Linked DNA regions of Homo sapiens: all the other regions are linked to region 6. Evidence: promoter capture Hi-C in 16 types of primary human blood cells and fetal thymus (Javierre and others, 2016). All regions are on one chromosome and are shown on one strand. The core of a region is centred on a gene start or on the middle of the fragment in contact, and the rest is flanking DNA. Distances in the headings are between cores, read along the strand shown.

Evidence for each region. Contacts are between HindIII fragments. The CHiCAGO score rates a contact against its expected background, and 5 or more counts as called.
Region 1: a contact is called between a fragment that was not itself captured here and the fragment with the promoter of CMTM4 in region 6, in 11 of 17 cell types (total B cells, naive B cells, naive CD8 T cells and 8 more). The highest score is 11.0, in total B cells.
Region 2: a fragment that was not itself captured here is called in contact with the fragment with the promoter of CMTM4 in region 6 in 1 of 17 cell types (naive CD4 T cells); the score reaches 5.2 in naive CD4 T cells.
Region 3: a contact is called between the fragment with the promoter of PDP2 here and the fragment with the promoter of CMTM4 in region 6, in 2 of 17 cell types (erythroblasts and endothelial precursors). The highest score is 5.5, in erythroblasts.
Region 4: a fragment that was not itself captured here is called in contact with the fragment with the promoter of CMTM4 in region 6 in 4 of 17 cell types (naive CD8 T cells, non-activated CD4 T cells, naive CD4 T cells and 1 more); the score reaches 6.9 in naive CD8 T cells.
Region 5: a contact is called between a fragment that was not itself captured here and the fragment with the promoter of CMTM4 in region 6, in 2 of 17 cell types (endothelial precursors and M1 macrophages). The highest score is 5.8, in endothelial precursors.

Annotation. Positions count from the first base shown.
Region 1 is chr16:66,450,739-66,454,183 of GRCh38, forward strand. All of the region lies in intron 2 of BEAN1 (brain expressed associated with NEDD4 1), which reads left to right. It also overlaps the pseudogene LOC107984807. Among named protein-coding and RNA genes, the nearest start is that of BEAN1-AS1, 24 kb to the right of the region's middle. The HindIII fragment of the contact is 1,650 bases long and covers 807-2,456 here.
Region 2 is chr16:66,544,010-66,547,673 of GRCh38, forward strand. All of the region lies in intron 2 of TK2 (thymidine kinase 2), which reads right to left. Among named protein-coding and RNA genes, the nearest start is that of TK2, 4.3 kb to the right of the region's middle. The HindIII fragment of the contact is 6,883 bases long and covers 1-3,664 here.
Region 3 is chr16:66,878,710-66,882,224 of GRCh38, forward strand. PDP2 (pyruvate dehydrogenase phosphatase catalytic subunit 2) reads left to right here and starts at 1,806. Exons shown (of 2, transcript NM_020786.4): 1 at 1,806-1,931. RefSeq lists enhancers at 1,520-1,599, 1,848-2,620 and a silencer at 2,080-2,259. The HindIII fragment of the contact is 2,608 bases long and covers 230-2,837 here.
Region 4 is chr16:66,562,843-66,566,314 of GRCh38, forward strand. It overlaps CKLF (chemokine like factor), which reads left to right. Exons shown (of 4, transcript NM_016951.4): 3 at 280-375; 4 at 3,044-3,226. The coding sequence ends at 3,169. The region is part of intron 2 of CKLF-CMTM1 (CKLF-CMTM1 readthrough); the gene reads left to right. Among named protein-coding and RNA genes, the nearest start is that of CMTM1, 1.9 kb to the right of the region's middle. The HindIII fragment of the contact is 3,389 bases long and covers 1-3,101 here.
Region 5 is chr16:66,826,090-66,830,052 of GRCh38, forward strand. It overlaps NAE1 (NEDD8 activating enzyme E1 subunit 1), which reads right to left. Exons shown (of 20, transcript NM_003905.4): 2 at 588-691; 3 at 434-494. Among named protein-coding and RNA genes, the nearest start is that of NAE1, 2.9 kb to the right of the region's middle. The HindIII fragment of the contact is 1,709 bases long and covers 1,570-3,278 here.
Region 6 is chr16:66,694,197-66,698,098 of GRCh38, forward strand. CMTM4 (CKLF like MARVEL transmembrane domain containing 4) reads right to left here and starts at 2,547. Exons shown (of 4, transcript NM_181521.3): 1 at 2,144-2,547. The coding sequence starts at 2,329. RefSeq lists an enhancer at 1,750-2,589 and silencers at 2,060-2,349, 2,440-2,779, 3,020-3,079, 3,110-3,189. The HindIII fragment of the contact is 10,204 bases long and covers 1-3,193 here.

The DNA of each region.
Region 1 (3,445 bases), core at 382-2,881, 240 kb before region 6:
AAGAAAGAAAGAAAGAAAAGAAAAAGAAAAAATCTTTGCAGGATGAGAAGTATTCAAGGGACACCTACACTGAAGCATAGGTGAGCAGAGGTATCAAAAGCACTGATAATATGAGTCATCATTAAAAGACAGTCTAGGTAAATATCACACATTTCCATTCAGCAGCTGCTGTGGCTTGCATATTTTGAACTGAAAAGGAATCCTGTGGGGGCTTTTCACTTATCACTTATTTGAAGAAAGGCTGTTTTAGGCCCCCTCATTGAACACAAGGCCTAGGTTTCAAAATTAGTTTTCCAGTATCATCACCAGACATATTATACTCTGTTAATACTGTTTGACACTGAACTGCTGTAATTGATGGTGCAACTACCTCTTGTGCATCCAGCAAAGAACAAACCTATTAGAGTGAAAAGCTAATCATGAAAAAATGGATGATTCCATAAAGACGTGAAGAAGGAACTCTTTTGTCTCGGGATCTATTAACCACTCCCAGGCACCAGTACAGACAGATCCCTCCATGAGAAACATTCTCCAGTGTCCTGGGGCAGGTTGCAAATGATGAATATATTTAGAGAATCTTCTTTCAAAATCTTTCACTTGTTCCAGCCATGACCTTGACCTTGACCCTGGATGCCTCAGTCCCTGTGCAGGCCCTCAGCCCTCCACCACTTTGCAACCCAAACTCCAACCAAAGTTTTTTTATTTTAATATAGTCCAATGTATCCATTTTTAAATGGTTAGTATCTTCTGTGTCCTGTTTAAGAAATGCAAGGTCATGAAGATGTTCTCTGATGTTTTCCACTTCAAGCTTTACTCTTTTGTCTTTCACATTTAGTTCTGAGTCTAGGGAATGTCTTTAAATTTTGAATATTTGATTGTCATGTATTGGGCACCTATTATGAGCCAGGCATCCTGCTAGGCAGTTTGCTTTGATTAGCTCATAGCCGAAATTGCTGCTCCCATTTTACAGATGAGGCAATAGAGGCTTAGAGATCTGACTTGCTCAGTGGGCACTGCCAGCAAGAGGCAGTGCCAGGACTTGAACCCAGGATTGTCTGTGTCTTATTTAACCAGAGTTCTGTCCTAGTCCAAGAAGCAGGTCAGCTCCAGCAAAGGAACTCGGGACTTTGGCTGCCCAAGGAAGGTGGCTGAAGGATGATCCTTTTCCAGAGACCCTAGAGCTGCTTACCTTCTCAGGATACTAAACGTTGGTGAACACAAGGCCTGGGACTGGGACTGGTTTGATTCTCAAAATAGCTCAGGCCTGCAAAGCAATCTGATGGGGAGTGGGGGATAAAGAACTTCTCCCCAAATGCCCCATAATGTTTTTTGGAATCCACATGCCATGAACCTCATGCTGGGAAACTACTCCAAAGCTCCATGGTTTAGTGTGATGTTGGCAGTCAGTTGAGATCATCAGGATCTATCATGGCAAAGAGGTAACTGTCTTTTCCTATTCTACTGGTTTCTCTCGTCCTGCCTACTGAAGTAACATACTATGCTAATAGATTTCCTGATCTTAAATCATCCTTGCATTTCTGGAATAAGCCCTAGTATACTAATTTTAATACACTGCTACCCTGATGCTGGTTTTCCAAATGCCCTTGTAAATTCTGGGAAATGAAGGAATCTCTGAGGATCAGAGGACAAAATCCTATCACCTTTAATGTGCTCCAGAATCGAAAACCACAGGGCCATGCCTTTTGTAGGCCTCTGGCTTTGGGCCTGGGCAGCATGGTGAACAGTGAAGGAGCCATAATTGCTGTCCCACCAGAAAGGCCTAAAGGAGTTGGCAAAAGCATGCCCATCCAGTGTGACATTTACAGAGGTCAGGTGGCACCAGAATCCCTCATGGGTGTTTGGCGAAGGGATCTGTGGGGAGACCAGGAATCTGAGTGCGTTGTCAGGTGAGTGTTTATTGGGGAAATTTCTAGACGCTTTTTGCAGGACAGACATTCCAGAGTGTAGAGAAAAGGAGGATGGGGTTTAGAGATGGTTTGCTTCATAGCTGGGTTTCCCAATCCTCATGGCACCTCACGTGGCAGACTCACTTACCCCAATGCCCAACTGTACGGCCCCAGAGTAACGAAGGGACACACAGCTCCCCAGGATGGAGAGAGGATATCATATTATTCCCTGGTCTATGGAGTCAGAACCAGGTTCAAATCCTGTCTCCCTCCCCCCAACTAAAAATTGTCTTTGCGATCTTGGGCAAGTCACTTCACCTTCCTGAGCCTCAGTACCCTCATCTATTAAATCAGATTACTAGCACCTACCTCATAAAGCTGCTAAGATTTGTAAATTTTATCTTTTCAAAAAAACAACTTTTGGTTTCATTGATATTCTGTGTTGCTTTTCTGTTTTCTAGTTCGTTGATTTCTGCTCTCATCTTTATTATTTCCTTCCTCTACTTGCTTTGGGTTTTGTTTACTCTTTTTCTAGTTTCTTAACATGAAAGCTTAGGTTTTCAAGTCGAGGCCTTTCTTCTTTTCCTTTCTTCTTTTCTAATATAAGTATTTAAAGCTATGAATTTCCCACTAAGCATTGCTTTAGCTGAATTCCATAAATTTTGATACTATGTTGTGTTTTTTTTCATTCTGTTATACACACACACACACACACACACACACATTGTTTTGTTTTCTGAAGACAAAGGCTTCAAAAGGCTGGAGTGCAGTGGTGCAATCATAGCTCACTGTAACCTTGAACTCCTGGGCTCAAGCAGTCCTCCCACTTCAGCCTCCCAAGTAGCTGGGACTATAGGCATGCACCACCATACCCGGCTAACTTTTTATTATTTTTTTGTATATACAGGATCTCACTATGTTGCCCAAGCTGGTGTCAAACTCCTGGGCTAAGGCAATCCTCCCACCTTGACCTCCCAAAGTGTTGGGATTACAGGCATGAGCCACAGTGCCTAGCCTAAAATATATTTTTATTTTTATTGTGATTTCTTCTTTGACCTATAGATTATTTAGAAGCATGTAGTTTAATTTTTTTTTTTTGGGTCAGGGGGACAGAGTCTTGCTCTGTTGCCCAGGCTGGAGTGCAGTGGCACAATCTCAGCTCATTGCAACCTCTGTCTTCCAGGTTCAAATGATTCTCCTGCCTCAACCTCCCAAGTAGCTGGGATTACAAGCACATGCCACCACACCTGGCTAATTTTTGTATTTTTAGTAGAGACAGGGTTTTGCCATGTTGGCCAGGGTGGTCTCAAACTCCTGACCTCAAATGATCCTCCTGCCTCAGCCTCCCAAAGTGCTGGGATTCCAGGCGTGAGCCCACCACGCCCGGCCTAATTTCTAAGTAGTTGGGGTTTTCCCGGATAGTTTTCTATTTTGGATCTCTAATTCCATTGTGGTCAGAGAACATATTTTGTATGATTTAAATCTTTTTAAATCTATTGAGACTTGTTTTATGGCCCATATGTGGTCTATCCTGGAGA
Region 2 (3,664 bases), core at 20-2,519, 150 kb before region 6:
GATATATAAAAAGAGCTCAACCTAGACATCACTCTACAGTCTTTTTTCTTTCCTGTTCATTGAAGCATTTTAACAGGTTGTTCAGATAAGCCCTTCTCCCAGAAACTTGTTCCTATCCCCAGCATGAAATCCTGAAGAGCTGGTGAATGTCAGGCCCTGAATGAGCTCAGCCAATCTGCCCTCCGGTTTACAGCAGGCAACGCAGGAAGAATCTCACAAAGTTCCCCTGAAATGGAAGGGGGAACAGGAAGCAAGCAAAGGGAGTCTTTACATTTCTTTTTAAAGTGATGTCTAAAAATATTATAAGAGAAGTGCATGCCCATTGAAGAAAATACAGAAAATCAAAAAGGAGAAACTATCACCCATAATCCCAATACTAAGAGATAAACCCCATGACATATGAGCATATTTCATGCCAAATATTATTTTCTATACAGTCCTCATCTTTGAGCACGTTTCAACTGTTTATTGAAGGCCTATGCTGTGCCAGGCACTGTGTACTCAGGGCCTCGTTGCAACGGCCAAAGAGCTCATGAGTGTGTGGAGGAAAGCAACAGGAAACTGTGAAAAGGAGATGGTCCCCATGCTGTGGGAGCACATGGCCGGCCTGGCCCAACACTCTGTGATTACGCTACAATTTATCTCCATTTTCCTCTGCTATGAGCCCTTGAGTCCAATTTTCCATGATTATAACTGAAACTGTGATGAGCCATCTATCCCTATTATAAGTAACAATATTTAATCTTTCCTAAAAATGGAAATTAAGCATTCTTGTGCTAAGAAATACATTCTCAGTGGCCAGGCGCAGTGGCTCACGCCTGTAATCCCAGCATTTTGGGAGGCCGAGGCAGGGGATCATTTGAGGTCAGGAGATCAAGACCAGCCTGGCCAACATGGTGAAACCCCGTCTCTACTAAAAATACAAAAATTAGCCAGGCGTGGTGGCGGATGCCTGTAATCCCAGCTACTGGGGAGGCTGATGCAAGAGAATCGCTTGAGCTTGGGAGCTGAGAGGTGGAGGTTGTGGTGAGCCGAGATCACACCACTGCACTCCAGTCTGGGTGACAGAGTGAGACCCTGTCTTCAAAAAAAAAAAAAAAAAGAAATACATTCTCACACACAAGAATGTATGTATGCATGAATATATGTATATGTTTATGAATATGCATATATGTATTTATCAGTTGGATTTCTCTGATCAAACCTTATTACACAATCCCTAAAAGAAGAAAATAAAAATCACTCGTAAATCTCAGCAATCATTGTCATTTGGATGTTTAATTAGAACCCAGGGTTCCAGAGGCAAACTGGCTTGGGTGCCAAAGCCTCCACAGGGAGAATCCAAATATCCTGTCTTATCAAAGACCCTGAGAAATCTGCAGTCAAAAGAAACTTGCCCAAACGTCTAACAACTGGCAAGTGGATAAACAAAGTGCACTACAGCCACGCCATGAATACTATTCAGCTATAGGAAAAAATGACATACTAATACGTGCTACAAGGCAGATGCATGTCAAAATATTATGCTAAGCAACCAGGAGCGGTGGCTCACGCCTGTAATCCCAGCACTTTGGGAGGCCTAGACAGGCGGATCACCTGAGGTTAGGAGTTCGAGACCAGCCTGGCTAACGTGGTGAAACCCCGACTCTACTAAAAATACAAAAATTAGCTGCACGTGGTGGCACATGACTGTAATCCCAGCTACTTGGGAGGCTGAGGCAGGAAAATGGCTTGAACCCTGGCGGCGGAGGTTGCAGTGAGCCAAGATCATGCCATTGCACTCCAGCCTGGGCAACAGAGAGAAACTCCATCTCAAAAAAGAAAAAAAAAAAATGTGCTAAGTGAAAGAAGCCAGATACAAAAGATCCCACGCTATATGTTCCATTTTATATGGAACGTCCAGAAAACACAAATCCCTAAAGAGACAGGAAGTAGATTAGTGGTCACCTGGGGCCAGAAGAGATTGCAAATGGGCACAAGGTTTCTTTTTGGAGTAATGGAAATGTTATAAAATTAGATTGCACAGCCTGGGCAACATGTAGAAATCCCATCTCTACAACAAATACAAAAATTAGCCAGGAATGGTGGTATGTGCCTGTAGTCCCAGCTACTTGGGAGGCTGATGTGGGAGGATCACCTGAGACCAGGAAGTCAAGGCTGCAGTAAGTTGTGATTGTGCCACTGTCCTCCAGCCTGGACAACAGAGCCAGACCTTGTCTCAAAAAATAAAAAATAAAAATAAAATAAAATAAAATTAGATTGTAGTGGTGTTTACTCTGTAGTGCTGTTTACTCTGTAAATTTACTAAAAATCATTGAATTGCACATTTAAATGGGTGAATTTTGTGGTATGCAAATTACAATAAAGCTGTTTTAAAAAGGAACCCAGCTGAATTTCATTTAACATTCAAATAACTAAGGGAAGACACTTTTACCCCATCACACCACAAACTCTCTCTTACATGCTCCTTGTTAACCCCACATCTATCTCTTAACTAGACTGAGAATTTCGGCATTAATGTTTATAATATTTCTTTCCTGTTTGTTTCCTAAGGACAGTTTTTTTTTTCATTTGGGATCATACTTCATATACTTTTGTTGGTTTTGTTATTTTTTTTTTTCATCTTTTACATAGTGAGTGCCTTCCCAGGTCACTAAATATTTTTCAAAAACATGGTTTTTAATGGCTTTACATAATCCATTATATAAGACCTGTCACAATTTATTGAACTCCCTACTATTTGATTTTTTTTTTTTTTTTGAGACAGGGTCTCGTTCTGTTGCCCACGATGGAGTGCAGCAATGCAATAACAGCTCACTGCAGCCTTGACCTCCCAGGCTCAAGCAACCCTCCCACCTCAGCCTCCCGAGTAGCTAGGACTACTGGTGCATGCCACCATGCCCAGCTAATTTTTTGTATTTTTTGTAGAAACAGCATTTTGCCATGTTGCCCAGGCTGGTCTCAGACTCCTGAGCTCAAGCAATCCTCCCACCTTTGCCTCCCGAAGTGCTGGGATTATAGGCATGAGCCATTAGGTATGGCCCTGTTGGATGTTAAGTTCTGTCCAGTTATTTTATTAAAAAACTTTGTTGTGATACTCAATTATCTAATATTGTAAACTGTGCCATGTAATGGCTGCACCATCCACCCAGACACCTTTAACACTCTGGACATCTCTCCTCACCCACCAACACCAGTCAACCAACCAGCAACTCCCCTGGGCCCTGCTTTCCCACTCAGCTGCGGGCTCTGTGCCATCTCTAGTTTAGTTAAGGTCTCTCCCCTTCCAGTCTCACCCAGTTAGGCCCTCCACTCATGGTTCCCCACATCGCTCCCTGAGAGGCAACCCGGATCGTGCTGGGTGGGGGTGAGGCCCTTCAGTGACTCTGGGTTTTAGGACCTATTCTCAGTCCCTCTGCACCTATCCCCCAGCCCTCCCCAGCCACCTCTCTAGGGACTGGCCACAAGCCCAGGCCTGCAGGTTCTCATTCTTCTGTGACTTGTACCTGTTCCAACACTCCTGCCTCAAACTCTGCTCCATCTCCCAGCAGGCAATAAGGCTTCCCAAAGCTCCTCTCAGTCATCAGCCCCCCTACTCACAGCCACCATACTCACTGCTGTTCTAGTTCCACCATTCTCCTAGTTACTGCTGTCTCCCCCATCA
Region 3 (3,515 bases), core at 556-3,055, 180 kb after region 6:
CCATTTTTCTCTGTCTCCAGGGAAGGACTCCATCTGACTTACCATAGTTACAAGAGTTCTGTGAAAATAATTTATAAGGAAGCAGGTCATCACTGGAATGCCACAATGTTAGGACCAGAAGGGACGGAGGGATTATCTGGTGTCGGGGTTCGCTGTCTCTCTCAACCTACCAGCCGCCAGCCGTGCTGAGTTAATTGTCAGTAGCAGGCCAATATAATGGTCAGTTCAAAGCTTAATGGTTTGTGGGAAACCACTAAAGACTTTAGGGCAGGAGGCCGGGCGCGGTGGCTCACGCCTGTAATCCCAGCACTTTGGGAGGCGGAGGCGGGCGGATCACGAGGTCAGGAGATCGAGACCATCCCGGCTAAAACGGTGAAACCCCGTCTCTACTAAAAATACAAAAAATTAGCCGGGCGTAGTGGCGGGCGCCTGTAGTCCCAGCTACTTGGGAGGCTGAGGCAGGGGAATGGCGTGAACCCGGGAGGCGGAGCTTGCAGTGAGCCGAGATCCCGCCACTGCACTCCAGCCTGGGCGACAGAGCGAGACTCCGTCTCAAAAAAAAAAAAAAAAAAAAAAAAAAAAGACTTTAGGGCAGGAATTTGAGGGTTTTTTTGGTTTGTTTTTGTTTCTGTTTTTGTTTTTTTTGAGACAGACTCTCACTCTGTCTCCCAGGCTGGCGTGCAGTGGCATGATCTCACCTCAGTGCAACTTCCACCTCCCTGGTTCAAATGATTCTCATGCCTCAGCCTCCCAGGTAGCTGGGACTACAGGCGCGCACCACCACTCCCAGCTAATTTTTGTATTTTTAGTAGAGACGGTTTCGTGATGTTGGCCAGGCTGGTCTCAAACTCCTGACCTCAGGAGATCCCCCCGCCTCGGCCTCCCAAAGTGCTGGGATTACAGGCAGGAGCCACCGCACTCGGCCTTGGAATTTGAGTTTTAGAAGTGTCATTCTGCCAGGCGTGATGGCTCACGTCTGTAATCCCAGCACTTTGGGGAGGCTGAGGTGGGAGGATTGCTTGAGCCCGGCAGTTTGAGACCAGCCTGGGCAACATAGAAAGACCTTGTCTCTACCCACCAACCACGAGAAAAGGTGGGAGGGGCGTCATTCTGGCTGCTCTGCTCTGTGGTTAGGACCAAGTCAAAGGTGGAGGAGGGAAAACCGTAAAATCAAGTGAGAGGCTTGGAATAGGGTGGCTGCGTCGCCGGATGGATGAGTGGAGAGAGATTTAGGAGATAGGATTTACAGCATTAGATAACTGGAAAGAGAGGGTGAGGGAGAGGAAGGAGTCAAGATGCCTCCCAGGGTTTTGGCTTGGGTCTCTGGGCAGATGGTGGGGCCATTACTGGGTTAGGAGAGAAGAGAAAAAGCAAGTTTGGCAGAAAGCTGAGTTTGGGGTAAGTTATGTTTGAGGCGCCTGGGGGCCTCCAGAGGCAGGTGTCCAGGTGGCTGGACATCAGGGTGTGGCGCTCAAGAGAGGGTTCTGGAGTGGTCGACACCGAAGTGGAGAGGAAGCAGTGAGGTGTTCTAACAACGGTGAGGAATTGGGGAGGCCGCTGGGTTCGGGGTATGCAGAGTGTAGCGGCCACGTAGCTGGCGATCTCAGGCACGTGACTGCCTGGTCCTGTGGCCCCGCGCTCGAACACTTTCAGCACCCAGGCAGGGGGTAAGGGGCGGTGTTGCCCCCTCCCGGGTCCCGCCTTTCTGCCCGCCTCTCATCCTCTTTAGCCATTGGGCAATACCTCTGTCCATCAAGGGCCCGCCTCCGCAATTGAGCCAACCAGGGCTGGCGGGAGGGCGCTTCCTTCTGGAGCTGGGTCCTGACTAGGGACCGCCTGGGTGAGGTGAGGACCTGGTGGCCGCAGTTGTGGCACTGTGCGCAGGCGCTGAACTGACCGGACGGAGCGGGCGGCTGTGGCCTCGCCAGCTGGTGAGAAGCGGGCGAGGGTCCGAGGTAGGGAAGGTAACGAGCGGGGGATGTGGACACCTCTTTCCCCGCCAGGCCTCGCCGGCGCCTGACCCTCCCGGCCTGCGGCACCGGCTCAGGTGACTGGGCGGAGGGAGAGCTGAGGTGAGGGGGCGGGTCCGCGGCGGAGAGGGACCAGCTGGGCCTACGACCACGGTCACCCCACTCACGTGCGCGCGCCACGTGGGCCCGCGGGCTCGCCGAGGACCCTTGGCTGCCTACCGGGGCACCCCACTAGCTGCTCTGGCCTATCGAGCACCCCTTGGAGCTCTGTGTCCCGACTGCACGCCCCTGTTTTACAGGCTGGCAAGCCGGGGCTCAGAGGCACCAAGCGGGTCGCCCGGGGGCACCCAGCTGGGGTACGGCCGTGCCGGGGTTCTAGGGAGATCGGTTTTGGTGGGCTCCGGAGTCCATGCACTTAGCGATGAGGCTGAAGTCAGAGATTTGAACTTGGGACCTGTCTGTTTTCTTTAAGGATGCAAGAGGGTTTGCGTCCTGGCTGCGGTGTATCACCCTGCACCGCTGCCTGCCTTGACTGCAGGGCCGGAGCGTCAGGCGCCCTCTGCTCCCGGACAGACCGCCCCCGCACCGACTTCTGCGGGGTGGGCTGGCAGGGGGTGGGGGAGTGAAGGGACGGTCCTCAGTCCTGGGAACTCTTGAGGTCCCGACAAATGATCTCGAGATCCCGAGGGCAGGATTCATACATGAAAAGCTCATTATAATGGGTCAAGGTTTTGTTCTGTTTTTTTTTTTTTAATTTAATTTAATTTAATTTAATTTAATTTAATTTATTATATTCCAAGGAAAAGTACCACCAGGGCTAGTGAAGGGACTAGGAAACTCGTCACCCCCTTGAGGAGGCAGATGTGAAGCTTTTGGAAATCAGTTTGGCAATGAGTCTACACCCTTGGACCTACTGACTCCTTGTTTGGGAAATAACTAGGATAAAACCTAAGTAGAGAAAAGGTTACTGCATAAAGCAGTACAGTTTGGTGGGGTTTTGTTGTTGTTGTTGTTTTTAAAGAGACAGATCTGGCTCTGTCGCCCAGGCTGGAGTGCAGTGGTGTGATCATAGCTCACTGCAGTCTTGAAATCTTGGGCTCAAGCGATCCTCCCACCTCAGCCTCTTGAGTAGCTGGGACTACAGGCACTTACCACCATGCCCAGCTAATCTAAAAATTTTTGTAGAGATGGGGCACTTGCTGTATCACCCAGGGTGGTCTTAAACTCCCTAGCCTCAAGTGATCCTCTTGCCTTGGCCTCCCAAAATGCTGAGATTATAGGCATGAGCCACTGTGCCCAGTCCAGTTTGGTATTTTATATTAATAAATAGCAAGTAGTAGAAACAACCTCTAAATTTCCAGCCGTAAAGAATAGTTAAGTAAGTTGTGATTATTTATGTCAAAATGTAGCCATCAGATGTGAAAAAATACTCTTATCAGGAAAGCCAGATTCAAAGTTGGGGTTACAACTCTACAAAAATACGTACAGAATGACTGTGCGCAGTAGCTCCCACCTGTAATCTCAGCACTTTGGGAGGCCAAGGGC
Region 4 (3,472 bases), core at 157-2,656, 130 kb before region 6:
CCCGAGTAGCTGGGATTACAGGCATGCACCACCATGTCTGGCTAATTTTTGTTTTTTTTAGTAGAGACGGGGTTTCACCATGTCGGCCAGGCTGGTCTCAAACTCCAGGCTTCAAGTGATCTGTCTGCCTTCCAAAGTGCTGGGATTACAGGCGGGAGCCAGTGCATTCTGCCTGCTGACTTTGTTTTTTGTTGTTGTTGTTTTTTTGTTTTTTGTTTTTCCTTTTTAGCATTGCTTGGTAGTCTTCATGTAAGGCTCAGCTTTATTGTGTGTTTTTAGGATATTATCAACTCACTGGTAACAACAGTATTCATGCTCATCGTATCTGTGTTGGCACTGATACCAGAAACCACAACATTGACAGTTGGTGGAGGGGTAAGTGGAAGTCTTTCTGCTTGCTTTCTTCAGGTTTTATCAGAATGCAAATTTACTTGGAAAACAGATGTAAGAATAGAAAGCTATACTATATTCATCCTTGAGATTCCTAGGCCAATATACAATGCCTAGTGGCTTAATATTTTTGTCTGTGAATGCTTGCCCTGATTAACATGAAGGAGTATGATTTTATACTAGAAGCAGAATTAACCCAATAAAGGGGTTCCTACAGATTTCTTATAGGTACGTAGGGCTAGACTAGACTGACAAAAGCTACTGGAATCAGTTACAGCACTTAGCTCTGAGAAACCTGATGTCAAGCAAAACAAAACAAAAGGATGGATGAGTTTCATAGCTCTCCCTTTTACAGAAAAGGATACATACCATTTGTTAAGATGAGACAGACTGTTTTGAGCTCAGTTATTTCTTGTTCAGATCCTTCAGATAGAATATAATAGATGATGTCCTTACGGTAAGAGAACATTGGCAGGGCACCTTGCAACTAAAGGATCATTTTGAACCCGGCTTGAAGAGAAGCAGATCAATTCCATCAGACCTCATCCTAGAAAGCAAGCCAGAATATGACTCAAGTAATTTAGTTATAGTTCTATCTGATATTCTTCTAAGATTTCTCATACAAGGTTCAAAATCATTTAGCTTTTCTAGGTTCTGACCTAGAGAATTGAATTAGAAAGTTCTTAAATAAATCTTCCTACTTCCATGTTCTTTCATAGTATGGGTCACTTAGGAGAACTCTCAGCCATATATGTCAGAAGCCATGATTTTCATCTCCCTTAGGCCCTGAGCAACTTCATGAGGAGTCAGAATTATTCTAGAAATGAGATAGCTCTGTATCAATTTCCCCCAGTTGTTTTTGAAGATAATACTCATCTTTCTACTGTGAAGAAGGAAGGACCAGGCATAGGATTTACTTTCATTCACTTTTTTACTCATTCATTCATTTACTCATTTCTTAAGTGTACTTTGGCAGGGGCTGACAAAATATAGAGCTGTGCTATTCAGTATAGTAACCATAGTTGCTAGCCACATGGGGCTACTGAGCACTGGAAATGTGGCTAGTCTGAATCAAGATCAGCTGTAAGTATAAAAATACACATTTAATTTCAAAGATTTATTACCCCCAACAAGGAATGTAGAATATTTTGTTAATAACTTTGTTGATTACATGTTAAATGATAATATTTTAGACATACTGAGCTAAATATATTAAAATCTATGACTTATTTTTTTCTTTTTTTTTTTTTTCTGAGACAGAGTCTGTCTCTGTCGCCCAGGCTGGTGGAGTGCAGTGGTGCTATCTCAGCTCACTGCAAGCTCTGCCTCCCGGGTTCACGCCATTCTCCTGCCTCAGCCTCCCAAGTAGCTGGGACTACAGGCATCCGCCACCATGCCTGGCTAATTTTTTGTATTTTTAGTAGAGACGGAGTTTCACCGTGTTAACAAGGATGGTCTCGATCTTCCGACGTCGTGATCCGCCTGCCTCGGTCTCCCAAAGTGCTGGGATTACAGGCGTGAGCCACCGCGCCCGGCCGACTTTTTTCTTTACATTTATAATGTGGCTGTTAAAAAATCTTTAATTATGTGGCTGTGTTACACTGGTGACTCATATTATGCTGCTTTCAGACAGCACTGACTAGAGTGTGAGCCCCGTCCTCAAGTTGCTTAGAGCTTAACACAGGAGACACAAGTGGAAACCGCTGTATATAAGCTGTTGACAGGGAGCTGCATGGTGCAGAAAAGAGGAAACTACCTCTCTGGCAGTGGAATTGCTGTTTGCTGAGAATAAAGGAAAAAAAATGGAAAAGGTTCCAGGTAGAGGAGCCAATAGTGTACAGAGTGCCAGTCATGAAAAGATTGGTAGGAGGTATTCAGTGTGGTCAGAACCTAGGAGGCAGTGGCTTGAGACTCTGGGTGGAAAAGGAGACTGTGAGAGCCATGTCTGGAGCCAGGAAGCCAAACTTCCTGATGACTGGAAGAAGCTGACCAAACAGCATGCAAGGAATGACATCCCCCTCTCCCACCCCAGGCACCAGCTCTCAGATAGCCATCAGAGTGTCTGAAGGCCCCCACGTGTTCTTAGTTATTGTTTTTATCTAATTTTACTTTCTTAAGGTCTATTTAGAATCTCACCCTTTAAGCAGATGTAGCCTAGCCTTTGAGAGTTCACTTTGGATCATCTTATTAACTCCAGTTTTCTGGAGCTACAGTCCCCATGATTTAATATTGAGCTGGTGTTAACTTTGACCTTTTCTTCTGTAGAGTTTGTCAGTAGAGAAGTCAGAGTTGAACACTGGGGTTAGAAATATTAATAACTAAATATCCTCAGTAGGGCTTAAAAGAATACATGCAAGAGCAGGTCAAGAGATAAAAGCAAACAAGTATGGATTTCAGAGCCCACACTGCTTTATTATTTTTCTGCTCACTTAAATTATCTTTTCTCTTTCTATAGGCAAGTATTTAGAAAACTTAGCAATGAGGAGAATAAGATGATCTCTGAAGTCTCTCCATGTTAGTATTAGATGAAGCACAGGGAGCAATCCGAGTACCCTAGCAAGAGAGGAATCTGGTGGGCAGACCACTTAAAACTTGTGTGAATGACAGGAGTGGGGACCATGGTTAGGGCAGTGACACTTGTCTTTCTTTCCAGGTGTTTGCACTTGTGACAGCAGTATGCTGTCTTGCCGACGGGGCCCTTATTTACCGGAAGCTTCTGTTCAATCCCAGCGGTCCTTACCAGAAAAAGCCTGTGCATGAAAAAAAAGAAGTTTTGTAATTTTATATTACTTTTTAGTTTGATACTAAGTATTAAACATATTTCTGTATTCTTCCACATATTTTCTGCAGTTATTTTAACTCAGTATAGGAGCTAGAGGAAGAGATTTCCGAAGTCTGCACCCCGCGCAGAGCACTACTGTAACTTCCAAGGGAGCGCTGGGAGCAGCGGGATCGGGTTTTCCGGCACCCGGGCCTGGGTGGCAGGGAAGAATGTGCCGGGATCCGCCTCAGGGATCTTTGAATCTCTTTACTGCCTGGCTGGCCGGCAGCTCCGAGGTGTGGGGTTGCAGAGATTTTGAGT
Region 5 (3,963 bases), core at 1,174-3,673, 130 kb after region 6:
CTAAATATAATCTTTAAAGAATAATATACAGGCCATCTTTAAAACAGCATTTTTGTTGACACTGTAAAGAGAGATACCCCTAGACTAAGCCTAAAAGACATCACAAACAACAGGCATTATTGTTAATTATATGCTAACACCTACGGATCAATACAAGAGCTTAGGAAGTGCCCATATTCCATGAATAAAGGAATAACGACTACTCCTTTGTATTAATAACAATAAAGACAGTAATGATGGGTAACATTTATTAATGCCCTATTTGCCAGATGCTGTACTAGCACTTTACCTATATTATCTCACTTCCTCACCATAATCCCAAACATAAGGATGATTTCCACTGAGAGTCGAGTCACCCTGACTGAGGAGGTGAAGCTAAGACTCAGGCCTTGCCTTCCTTAACGTGAATATATTTGAAGAGAATAGAACATACTTGTTTCCAGCATCTTCTCCGCTGACCTGATTTCCATCAATAATTGTAAACGAACCAATACCTGAGAGCCAAAACAGAGTCAGTCAGGAATACATAGTTCTAGGTCATAAACTTAAAGAAGTATATTTAGAACACAACCACAAACCTACGTTACCTGGTAGTACCAAGTTTTTAAGAATTTCAGTTCCTGTGGCTGTTGCATTTATTAGGCAAACATGAGCAGATTCTAAAGCCTCTTGCCCATGATCACCCCACAACCTACAAAACAGACACAAATTTGATGTTTTTAAAACTTTCATGAAAATACAGCTTTCTTATTTGAATGGTGATCTTTAAACTTTCCTTGCATAGACTGATATGATAACCACAGAATACAGGTAAGACGGGAACAGATATTAGTATAGTGATTATACAGTAATCTAGAACTCAGGTTGATGCCTTGAATGGTTAGGGGAAAAGAGGGAGAGGGTCAAATTAGAAACAGAAACTTGGTCTTCCAGCCCCTTATCAGCCTGGGCACAAGAGCGACACTCTGTCTCAAAACAAACAAACAAACATTTAAAAAGCGTCTTTGGATTTAAACCCTCATCTGTTTTCTATTTCATTTATTCTTTGTTTTGTTTTGAGACAGAGTCTTGCTCTGTCACCCAGGCTGGAGTGTAGTGGCATGATCTCAGCTCACTTGGCCTCCCAAAATGCTGGGATTACAGGTGTGAGCCACCGTGCCCAGCCCTATTTCATTTATTCTTAAATTATGTTAGATGTGCCAGGTGCAGTGGCTCACACCTGTAATCCCAACACTTTGGGAGGCCAAGGCAGGCGGATCACGAGGTCAGGAGATCGAGACCATCGTGACTAACATGGTGAAACCCTGTCTCTACTAAAAAATACAAAAAATTAGCTGGGCGTGGTGGCAGGCGCCTGTAGTCCCACCTACTCGGAGGCTGAGGCAGAAGAATGGCGTGAACCCAGGAGGCGGAGCTTGAAGTGAGCCGAGATTGCGCCACTGCACTCCAGCCTGGGCGACAGAGCGAGACTCCGTCTCAAAAAAAAAAAAAATTATATTAGATGCATTTAAGTTAAGTTAGATGCATTTAAGATCTCGACATAGGGCTTATTACTGTGACTTCTGCAAAAGCTTTACCAAGAAAACTGAATTATCATCTGAAAAGCCTCACATCAACTTCTACAGGAGTGCTTTAAAGTATATTACCCAATGAACATTCTAATAGAGTGATTAATGTGCCTTCCCTGTTACCTGATTTAAAGCAGATTACCCCTTATTATGTAGTCAGTATGTCCTCCAGAGCATGTCAAGCAACTGCCTTGTTTTTTGTTTTTGTTTTTGATACAGGGTCTTACTATGTTATCCAGACTGGTCTTGAACTCCTGGGTTCAAGCATTTCTCTCGCCTCAGCCTCTAGAGTTGCTGGGACTACAGGCACAAGCCACTGTACCTGGCTTCATTTGTTTTTGTTTGCTGAGCATCCATCTTTCCACTCCACTGTATGCTCCATAAGGGCCCAGACAGCTGTCAAATGTATGGAGGAATCGCCTAGAAGAACCAGATGGACCGTAAACGCCTGTTTTCTCCATCAAAGTATGGCACGTAGAAGACACCTGACATATATGGTTGATGGATGCTTAGATAGTTGGAGAGTAAATTTAAGAATACTGGTGCATCTTGGCTGGGCGCAGTGGCTCACGCCTGTAATCCCAGCACTTTGGGAGGCGGAGGCAGGCAGATCACCTGAGGTCAGGAGTTTGAGACCAGGCTGGCCAACATAGTGAAACCCCGTCTCTACTAAAAATACAAAAATTAACCAGGCACAGTGGCACGCACCTATAATCCCAGCTACTAGGGAGGCTGAGGCATGAGAATCGCATGAACGCAGGAGGCGGAGATTGCAGTGAGCCAAGACCGCGCCACTGCACTCCAGCCTGCGCAACACAGTGAGACTCCGTCTCAAAAAAAAAAAAAAAAAAATACTGGTGCATCTCAAGCAGGGTGAGATAGTGTGTGTGCCTGTAGTCCCAGCTGCTTGGGAGACTGAGGCAGGAGGATCACTCCAGCCCAGGAGATCAAGGCTGTGGTGTGCCAATAATCATACCTGCGAACAGCCACTGCACTCCAGCCTGGGTAACATACTGAGACCCACCTCAAAAATAAAACAAAAAGAATACTGAGGCCAGGCACTGTGGCTCATGCCTGTAATCCTAGCACTTTGGGAGGCTGAGGCAGGAGGATCACTTGAGTGCAGAGGTACGAGACCAGCCTGGGCAAACCCCCATCTCTAAAACAGTTAGCTAAGCATGGTGGCACATGCCTGTAGTCCCAGCTACTCAAGAGGCTGAGGCAGGAGGATCGTTAGAGCCCAGGAAGTTGAGGCTGCAGTGAGCAGTGTTCTTGCCACTGCACTCTAGCCACTGCACTCTAGCCTGGGTCACAAAGTGAGACCTTGTCCCTGAAAAAAAAAAAAAAAAGAATCCTGGTGTGTCTCTAAGTAACATGTTTCAAGAATAGGCCAAATGAATCAGTCCTCTCTACTATCTTGCTGGCCCAACTAACGTGAAGTAAGGAGGGGCTTATTGACTGCTGCATTTTGCTTCTAACTGCTTCCCTTTGACACTTCAAAACCAGTTCTCACTATGAAAGTAAAGTTTGGGACTTAAATGGAATGCCCTCAGCAAAAACCCTCTTTTGTTAGAGTTGCTTAGTAACCTCAACTATCTTCTCAGCTCTGTCATGTACAGTTATACCTGCATTAGAAACACAAGAACTCCAAGAATTTACAAGAAAACCTAAGTTGGTTATAAGGACTGTTACCCTGTTTCTTCTCCGAAAAGCTTGGAAGCAGGATGTAACTGAGTACCTCCGAAAAAGCCAGAAGAGCCTTAGTTTACATCCTGGCTCAAAGATATGGGGAACTCTGGGCAAATTACCTAACTTCTCCAAGACTCTGTTTCTCCAACTGTAAAGCACAGGAAATGGTTGCTTTCAAGGGTACTCTCAGAACTAAGTGCCTAAAGCCTCTACTACAGCACTAGGCTGGTGGCGCAAACAGAAGCTCCAGTCCTTGGGGACATATAACTTCTGTTGTCTCAGAGGCTCCAGGAAGGAGGAAAGCTGAGCAGCTTTGTTATCTCCACAGCCTCAAGACACAGAAGACGCTCAATAAATAAGGAATGGGTAGTGCAAGGAGAAAAGGCAAGGGTGGGGAAGTACCCAAGGACCCTCCTGATGGCTTAGGCCTGCACTGTCCATTAAGGTAGCTGCTAGCCACATGTACTACTGAGCACAAGCAATGAGGCTAGTGTTAACTGAGATGTGCTGGTAAGTGTAAAATACAATATTTATACGATAGTTTTGGGGGGGCTTTTTTGACGGAGTCTCGCTCTGTCACCCAGGCTGGAGTGCAGTGGCACGATCTCGGCTCCCTGAAACCTACACCTCCTGGATTCAACCGATTCTCCAGCCTCAGCCTCCAGAGTAACTGGGATTACAGGCGCGCACCACCACGCCCAGCTAA
Region 6 (3,902 bases), core at 1,297-3,796:
TAAACTCCTAGCAATGCAGTAATAACTAACAGTCTACAAACTAGATTTCAATTCTTTTACTAGATCCTTTTAGGGACAAGTTCTATTTACTTTCAAACTCCCACAGTGCAAACAAAGCAAGGTATTTGACCAAGCCCTGCTCTTTTCTTATTCATTTCTAATTATCTGTACGGGCTGCTGGCACCCCATACTCAAACATTGGCTAGCTGCCTCTTTTAAAAGGCAATTGCAGGCAGGGTGTGGTGGCTCACGCTTGTAATCCCAGCACTTTGGGAGGCCGAGGTGGGCGGATCATAAGGTAAGGAGTTCGAGACCAGCCTGGCCAGGCCAACACAGCAAAACCCCGTCTCTACTAAAATTACAAAAATTAGCTGGGCGTGGTGGTGGGCGCCTGTAATCCCAGCTACTCGGGAGGCTGAGGCAGGAGAATCGCTTGAACCCGGGAGGCAGAGGTGGCAGTGAGCCAAGATTGTGTCACTGCACTCCAGCCTGGGCGACAGAGCTAGACTCCATCTCAAAAAAAAAAAAAAAAAAAAAAGGCAATTGCACACCTCCCTTCACCTCCTACATTCTCTTTGCTAACAGCAACGCCAAACTAAAAACCAATGCATCTTTGAAAACATTCCAGTTTACCAGATAAGGTAAATTTAAAATTCTGAAGACAGATTATCTGATCCATTTTTCTTTCCATAAAGCCCTTCAAAAATACCCTCTGGCAGTCAGCAGAACAAGCCTTTCACCCAAGAGAGACATAAAATAGCCTATGATTCTGTCATTTACAAACGCCAGGACATTTATTTAAAGGGTATCCACACATTATATTATTCCCAAGGAATGCTTATGCACTCAAGTAGGAAAAGGAGGACCAGGCCTGGCACGGTGGCTCATGCCTGTAATCCCAGCACTTTGGGAAACCAAGGAGGGGTGATCGCTTGAGCCCAGTAGTTGGAGACCAGTCTGGGCAACATGGTGAAACCCCATCTCTACTAAAAATACAAAAATTAACCCGGCATGGTGGAACGTGCTTGTAGTCCCAGCTACTCGGGAAGCTGAGGTGAGAAGATCGCTTGAGCCTGGGAGGTCGAACCTGCAGTGAGCCACGATCGCACCAGTGCACTCCACCCTGGGCGACAGAGACCCGGTCTCAAAAAAGAGAGAGAGAGAGAACAAGAACAAGTGGCTTCTCTGGCTATGAGAAGTCTATAAAGTTTTGAGGCCGGTGGCCTCAGAAGGCCTACCTGTGACAGAGAATGTTGGGGGGACACACGGGTTTTTCTGAATTAGAGCATGCCCACAACAGAGCTAAGCAATTGCCCGCAGAGGCATGTTACAAAACCACAAAGCAGGAACAGAGCTGAGAGGCCCCTGCCCAGAACACCCTGGAAGCTAAAACACAGGACCCTGAGAAATGAGCTCTACTACAGACAAGTCCAACAGAAAGTTCTCTGTTTCTGCTACCTCCAAAACTGGCTGCCCTCCCAGATTTAACTCTGGGTACCAATTGGGCAGTGCCAGCCACCGTGCTGGGCGGTGGATTCCGGGATGCCAAGTCTGTCTTCTTGGTTAGAAGGACACAAACCTCTGCAGTGTAGAGAATTGTGGGCATATCTGGGCTCCTCCACTGCATCAGGGCTACCTGCCTCCATCCAGCAAATACTTACTAAGCGCCTACCATATACGCCTGGCACCCAGCTAGACATCAAGTGGGAACCAAACCACAGTCCCTCGTCTCCGCAGGCAGAAACAGGCACCGTCCGGAGGTTGCGCGGGCCGGGAAAACCTGCCACAGGTTGCTAAGACCAGCTGTACCCAGGAGACAGCAGGATTCCCAGCAGCACCCAGCCCAGTAACGCCACAGACTCCCGGGAGCGAGGGCGGAGCGGACAGGTAGGCCCGAAGGCAGGTGCTCAGGTAGGAGGCGCACACCTGAGGCTGCCGGCCTGGGAAGGGCAGGCTCTGGCCGAAGGCGGGGTCCCCAGAGAAGGCTGCAGAGTGGTCCCGGGACCCCACGAGGGAGAGGGGGCGCGAGGAGCGGGCTCCGGCCTGGGCAAGCGGGTACGCGGCGGAGGCCCCGCAGCGGGGCGGGGAGGGAGGCGTGCGGCTAGGCCGCCCTCGGGCACCTGGGGCCCCGCCCGGCACCTACCACTTGGGCGACCTTGAGGCGGCCGAGCGCGCCGCGCAGGTAGTCGGGGTCGCAGCGCAGGCCGGCCAGCCCGCGGCGCTGGCTCACCGGCTCGGTGGTGGGCTGGTACGGGCTGCTGGCGCCCGAGATCATGGAGGTGCTCGAGGCCTCGCCCTCGAAGCCGTCCAGCTCCTCGCCGCTCCGCATGCTGCCGCCCGGCCCGGGCCGCCTCGCGCGGCTGGCTCCCGGCGCCAGGAGCGGGCGGACTCAGCGGGGCCGCCGCATCGCCGCCGCCGCCGCCGCCGCCGCCGCCCGACTGACTGCCCGCGGCCCGCCCGCCGCCGCCGCCTCTCGCCCGCCGCCCGGCTGCGGCTGCGGCTCGGTCCGCTCGGGCTCGGCTCCCGCCGCCTCGGCAGCGGAAAGGGAGGGAGGTGGGAGCCAGGAGAGGGAAGGAGGCGGGAGCGGGCGCGCCGGGCCGGGAGAGGCGGAGCCAGGCCGCAGCCGGCCGCTCGGAGGCGCTCCGCGGCTCGAGCGAGGTGGAGGCGGCGGCGCCGCGGGCCTCGGGGAGGGGCGGGGCGAGGCGGGGCGCCGGCTCCTCAGGCCCCGCCCTGGCCCCGCCCCCACCTGCGCCTAGAGCCGGGGCGGGAGCCGCTGGTGGGCGCTGGCGATCCCGGCACGCGGGGCGATGGGGTTCAGGCAGCGGGGTCTTGGGGCTGAGGAAAGGGTCGAGGTGGACCTGGAGGCCATGGAGTTGCTTTCCCAGACGCTGCCTCAGGTTCTCCTTTGAAGAAAGTGGGGTCCTCGACGCATAGGGTGGGGAGCTTCTCGGTAAAGACAGAGACGGGCTGCGCCACCCGGGTGCCGGGAACGGTGCGTGGCCAGGGTGGGCTTGACTCAGACTATTGGGCCGACGAGAGGTGGGTAAGTGCCTGTGTTCTCACGCTGGGCGCCTGGAACAAACCGGTTCCGAGGCCAGGGGCGGGCGGGGCAGGGTGAGGAGCCGCCCCACTGCAGGTTGTCCCCGCCGGCCTGACCCAGGCGACTGACATGTTCCTCTCCTCTCAGCTGAAAAGCTTTGCTAGCTCTGTCTACGCATAAAGTAAGGTTAAACACAGATTTTGCCCCGAAGGGCATTAATTAGGGACCAATTTACAATTCAAGTGTGAAGGCTAATTTTAAGCTAAGTAAAACACTGACTAAGAAGTGTCGCTTTGATATTGAACCCTTCCACAACCACAAATACCGAGAGCTTGCCATGTTCTAGGCACTGAGCAAGGCGCTTGAAGAACGTATCGTTGTTATTTCTATTTTACAGAAGAAGAGACTAAGGCTGCAGACTGGAAGTAGCTTGTCCAAGGTCACACAGTTCATTGGTGGGCAGAGCCCAGGTTCCTACTTTTTCTTTTTTTAAAAAAAAGTTATTTATTATTTTCATCATCATTATTTTTGTAGAGATAGGGCCTCACTGTGTTGCCCAGGCTGATCTCGAACTCCCGGGCTCAGGGGATCCTCCTGCCTCAGCCTCCCAAATTGCTGGGATTACAGGTGTGACTGACCATGCCCAGCCCTCAACTTTTTCAAAGATAGGAAGGACAGTGACTCTAATACTGTTGTCCTTCTGTATGGGGGCAAGAGAGGGAGCTTGTTTTCAGGACCCCCTCAAATACCAAAATCTGAAGATGCTCTCAAATCCTTTATATAAAATGGTGTAGTATTTACATATAACCTACACACATCTTCTCGTATACTTTAAATAATTGTTCTACTGTATTACTTTTTA